Regions from separate parts of the Homo sapiens genome. Here region 2 is linked to region 1. Evidence: promoter capture Hi-C in 16 types of primary human blood cells and fetal thymus (Javierre and others, 2016). All regions are on one chromosome and are shown on one strand. Each heading gives the region's core, a stretch centred on a gene start or on the middle of the fragment in contact. The rest is flanking DNA. Distances are from core to core; before and after follow the strand shown. Region 1 holds the start of C15orf61 (chromosome 15 open reading frame 61). Region 2 overlaps CLN6 (CLN6 transmembrane ER protein).

Region 1 (2,700 bases), core at 193-2,692:
TCTCCTTACAGGACAGTCCAGTGGAGTAACGGCTCAAAAAGCCCACGACTGACATATGTGTTATTATAAGCACAAATACACAGACTATTTTTAACCTTAATGGACGATCAGATTATGTAATAGTATTAGTAGTACGGCTGCGCAGGGTTTAGTTTTAATCCTGGCTTTAAAAACCTGGCTGGGTAACATGGTTCATTCAGCTCCATGGCTAGATTTTGAATCACTGAAATCTAGATTGATTTTATGCCAGCTATTAGTAAGTTCAAAACATCTTGAGGCCTTCTGTTTTCCCCTGACCTATAAAAGATACACCCATGTCCATGTTCGTACCTCCCTCTTCTGTCATTAAACCAAAAGAAAATAAACACCTAGTGACAGTAAACATCCTCAGGGCGTCTCCATGAAAATATACAAATATTAAAGATCTTTAAAAATCTTTTAGGCCTAGCACCTCAGGAAGCTGTTATGTCTGGTGAAAACCTTTGGTGCTTTTAGTAAAACGAACTTGCCGGGAATTCATACAAAGAAAACAAAAGAAACTTAAAAGAGTAGTTCCAGTTATTGCAACATAAACGCAGCTGCAAAGTGATGTTCACGGGAATGAGTCCTGCCATGCAGTAGGACGGATGTCAACTTCAGAGCCACTTTCTAGGGGGCGTTTCCTGACGCCCCCTGGCTTACTGCCCAGGCCAGGGGTCTACTCTGGTTAACATGGGCAGGACAGGAGGGCGACCCGCCCCTCCCTAGGCCCGAGGACGCGCCCGCAGCAGGCGAACGGCTTCGGGTGCCAGGAGCTCAGCAAGCTGGGGACCCCCTGGGCGAGGAGTACAAAGGACCCCAGGCGAAGCCGGCGCCGGGAGGCAGAGCTGACTCCCGCGGGACTCTACCGGCCTGCGAGCGTTCGTCACGTGCTCGGTGGCTGAGGGGCCGTCCCGGCCGGGCGGGCTTCACCGCGTGGGCGCGGCAGTCGCCACTCACCGAGGTTGACGACCTTGAGCGCCGTGAAGAAGCGGTTCTGCCGGGCCAGGTCCTGCCAGGGAGCCTTGGAGCAGTGGTACTTGATGAAGGGGAAGCAGCCGGTGCGCAGGACGTGGTAGTTGGCGCCCTGCACCGGCCAGTTGAAGTGCGAGAGGCCGAACTGGTCGTTGCGGACGGCGCTGTAGGGCACGCAGAAGGAGGTCCAGTGCGGCAGGCGCCGCTGCAGCAGATGCCGCGTCAGCACCTCCGAGGCGCTGGGCTTGGGGCGGGCGGCGGCGCGCGAGGCCCACGGCCTACACAGCAGCAGGCGGAGCGCGACCTCGTGGGCCCTCCTCAGGGCCTCCATGGCCCGCCGCGCCGGGGACGCAGGCTGGTGTCCGCAGCCGCTGGCGCGCAAGCGCGCCCCCGGGCGAGCGCCGGGAAGGCCAACCGGCGCCGCGCGGGTGCCCGAGAGCCCCCGGTGTGCGGCGGCGCGTGCGCACAGCGGCCCCGTGGCCTCCCGCTGGGGGTGGAGTCCGGGGGATGGGAAGCGTGAGCTGCGCGAGGCGGAGGGTCACCTGCGTCAAGGAGCTGGTTTTGAGTGGCCAGGTGTGACCTCACGCCGTCATTAGTAACTCGGGCAGGGGAGGGATTCGGGGAGGTCTCATCAATTTGGGCCTGAGGAAAATTCAGGTGGAAGACAATTAAATAACTAACCACCTCCGCAAGGTGCAGAACTCAAACCCAAGTCTCCCTCCCACGCCCTGGGCTCCAGGGAAGCCCTTGGGTGTTGTTGTTGAAACAGGACGAGGCGTGACCCCGGGTCTGCGTTGTTTGGTAAGGCCGGGAGCACTTTTGTGTGTAGGTCCTCGCTGTCGGGTTCACTGTTTAAAATTAGTCCCAGAGATTTCAAAATCAAAAGTTTATTTAAAAACCTCACGTGTCTCAGTGCAGCGTCCGAACACACAAAGGCACCTCCCTCTAAGAACCTGGTAGACGGACCAGGAGCCTCTTATCGAGCTTTGTGGACCTCAGTCACCCATTACCAATCCATTACTTTCGGAAAAGCTTTGCTCAAACTTTGCGGCCTCTTGAGGCAGTAACTTACGGACAAAACTGCTTTTAGAAAAGGATTTCCTCTTTTGTCCTAAACTCATTTTGTTTGGAGAGGCCATACATAAACAAGATGATGTGTCTGAAACCACCTTATGTAAATGAGGTACAGTAATTACGCGTTAAGCATCATATAACAATTACTATCGTTGCTAAAAACTCAAGGGGGATGTAGGATAGTATGGCGAAATTTTATATTCCCCAGTTTTTTGTTTTGTTTTGTTTTGTTTTTTTGAGACGGAGTCTCACTCTGTTGCCCAGGCTGGAGTGCAGTGGTGCAATCTCAGCTCACTGCAACCTCTGCCTCCCAGGTTCAAGTGATTTTCCTGCCTCAGCCTCCCGAGTGGCTGGGATTACAGGCGTGCACCACCACGCCTGGCTAATTTTTGTATTTTTAATAGAGACGGGGTTTCACCATGTTGGCCAGGCTGGTCTCAAACTCATGACCTCGTGATCCACCTGCCTCGGCCTCCCAAAGTGCTGGGATTACAGGCGTGAGCCACTGCACCAGGCCTATTCCCCAGTTTTTATTGAACATTGAGCACCCACCAACATATGCCGAATCTTGAACTTTACCTTACAGAATTTGAAGTTGAACTTTACCTTATAGAACTTGAACTTTATAGAATT
Region 2 (2,700 bases), core at 190-2,689, 710 kb before region 1:
ACAGCCGCTGCGCTGGGAGAGCTCCCCAGGGCGGTGGGTACACACACCTCGTCACTCGGACCCCCAACTTATCCGCAAGTTCCGGGCGCCACCTCCGCGTTCTCGGGGTCCCTCCAGCCCTGAGTAGGACTTGATTCTGTCATTTATCAGGAGGCTGTCTGCTTGACCTGGGGCACCCAAGAATGTGCGAATGTAATGGAAGAGACAGCGGGGAAGGGCGGAAGCTGCCGTCCAGAGAATGAATGAGGAGCCCTTCTCAGTTTTTGGTTTATCTCGTTGGGCGAGCAGAGCTCCATTCTACCTTCGTCCCGTTTTACTGACCAGAAACATTCACTGCATTCAGCAGGCATTCTTTAAGCGCCTGTGGTATGCCCAGCGCTGTGCCAGGCAGTAAGGGGGTAGGCAGGGTGAAGGTGGGAGAGGCTTACGGTCCTGTAGGGATCAGGAGAGACAGAGCCCAAGTGGGAGTGAGCGGTCATCTTGGAGGGCTTCATGGAGGAAGTGGCACTTGAGCTGAGTCTCAGAGGACTTGGTAGGGGACCCAGGGAAGACAGGCTGTTCCATCCAGGGAAACAGTGGGGAAGGGCAAGGAGTTTAGTGGTGCTGGAGCTTTCCGGCTGTAAAAGAAAGTGACAGGAGGATGCAGACTGATTGTGAAGGGCCTTTAATTGCAGCAAGTCTAGGACTCGAGTTGAGGACCTAGATTGCAAAACTTAGGGGTAGGCGCACTGCCGTGACCGTGAGTGCCGCCTCAAATGTTGGGCCTTGGAGGCCTTGCTTGTCTCACCCTAGTTCCTGTCCTAGGTGACAGGTTAAGGACACAGTCTTTATCCCATAGGCACTGGGGAGTCGTGAGAAGTTTCTGAGCACTAGCATGCGCAAAGTCCTTGTTAGGAAGTTTTTGGTACGACCTGGATGAAGGGAGAAGTCTGAGCGCTTGGGCTGAGGTGAGGGATGGCTCGTTTCTGCTGCTGCGGACATGCGGGCTGAGCAGCTGCGGACTGTGTCCGTTTTCACTTAGAAACAATGTACTGGCCATAGACCGCATACTGTAGCTCACCTGTCTCCCTCGGCCTGTGAGTTAAGTATTATTTTACTGATGAGGAAATAGGCTTAGATGGGCTGAGGAGCCTGACTGGCTGAGTCCCCGGGCTGTCTGCCCCACGCCGTGTCCAGTGGTTTCATCTCTGCTGTGACCCAACCCATTTACCAGCTCCCCTCTTCCAGGCAGCCTCTTCTGCCTGCGGGATGTCTCTGTTCCGAATCCTTGCCAAGTTGGGGGTCACTGACTGCCCTGAACTGTGACAGCCCAATGGGAACAGCCTGTGGGTCTCAGATAGGGTCACCACTTTATCTCCTGTGTGGGGCTCCCATGTCTAGCATCTTACTCAGTCTTGACAATGAGCTGCCAGATGTCACTTCCAATGTACAGATGGGGAAATGGAGGCCCAAAGAGGTTACATCATTTGCTGGCAAGAACCAGGGCCTAAACCCAGGGTTTCTGACTTACGGGCTCTGCTCTTACGACTCCACTTTGGCTGCTAAGGAGTCATGTCCCTCTTCCCCTGTGTGAGCTCCCCACCAGCCAGGGTATTCCCAGGGGGGTGGTGTGAGGGTGGGAGCTCTCTGTCTCCCAGGGTGTCTCTGCCCCCCACAATGTGGCTTCAGCCCATTCCCAGTATCATTGCTGCTCAAGAGAGTAGGCAGAATCATCCTGTCCAGTTCCTAGGATGCTTGGATTTCCTCTGCTGCATCCGTGCTTTGCTCACTACCTCTTAAGGTAACCCATTCCAACGTCCACCTGCTTTGTTGCCAGTTTTTGTATTATAATGAAAGTGTTACAATTAGGCCGGGTGCCATGGCTCACGCCTGTAATCCCAGCACTTTGGGAGGCCAAGGTGGGTGGATCACTTGAGTCCAGGAGTTCGAGACCAGCCTGGCCAACATGGAGAATCCCCGTCTCTACTAAAAAATACAAAAATTATCCAGGTGTGATGGCCCATGCCTGTAATCCCAGCTACTCAGGAGGCTGAGGCACCAGGATCCCTTGAGCCTGGGAGGCGGAGGTTGTAGTGAGCCGAGATGGCGCCACTGCACTCCAGCCTGGATGACAGTGAGACTGTCTCAAAAAAAAAAAAAAGTAAAAAAAGAAAAGAAAAGAAAGTATTATAATTAGTGCCCGTGATAAATCAAATAGCAAAGGCTTCAAGTTTTAAAAAGTAGTAATCCCTGTCCCACTCTTCCCTAGCACCAGAGACAATCACCCTAGCTTCTTTTAGCTCTTTTTTCCAGAGTCAAATTCCTATTTCCAAATAATATGTTTATAACAATAAAAAACACTAGCACTTTTTATGGATCAGGCCCTGCTCTTAAGTTTTTGCATGTATTAATTAAACCACGACCCTTGAGATACGATCTACTGGCCAGGTGTGGTGGCTCATGCCTGTAATCCCAGCACTTTGGGAGGCCGAGATGGGCGGATCAGGAGGTCAGGAGTTCAAGACCAGCCTGACCAACATGGAGAAACCCTGTCTCTACTAAAAATACAAAAATTAGCCAGGCATGGTGTCATGCGCATGTAGTCCCAGCTACTCGGGAGGCTGAGGCAGGAGAATTACTTGAACTCAGGAGGCGGAGGTTGCGGTGGGCCAAGATCGCGCCATTATACTCCAGCCTGGGCAACAAGAGTGAGACTCCGTC

The links. The method cuts DNA at HindIII sites, captures the fragments that hold promoters and counts their contacts. A CHiCAGO score of 5 or more calls a contact.
Region 2: a contact is called between a fragment that was not itself captured here and the fragment with the promoter of C15orf61 in region 1, in 1 of 17 cell types (total CD8 T cells). The highest score is 7.1, in total CD8 T cells.

The regions. Positions count from the first base shown.
Region 1 is chr15:67,519,873-67,522,572 of GRCh38, reverse strand. C15orf61 (chromosome 15 open reading frame 61) reads right to left here and starts at 1,442. Exons shown (of 2, transcript NM_001143936.2): 1 at 979-1,442. The coding sequence starts at 1,324. IQCH-AS1 (IQCH antisense RNA 1) reads left to right here and starts at 729. Exons shown (of 6, transcript NR_040052.1): 1 at 729-1,054. RefSeq lists enhancers at 1,016-1,135, 1,776-1,855 and a silencer at 1,246-1,595. The HindIII fragment of the contact is 4,154 bases long and covers 1-2,027 here.
Region 2 is chr15:68,226,486-68,229,185 of GRCh38, reverse strand. The region is part of intron 1 of CLN6 (CLN6 transmembrane ER protein); the gene reads left to right. Among named protein-coding and RNA genes, the nearest start is that of CLN6, 1.9 kb to the left of the region's middle. RefSeq lists enhancers at 1-73, 104-173. The HindIII fragment of the contact is 5,228 bases long and covers 1-2,700 here.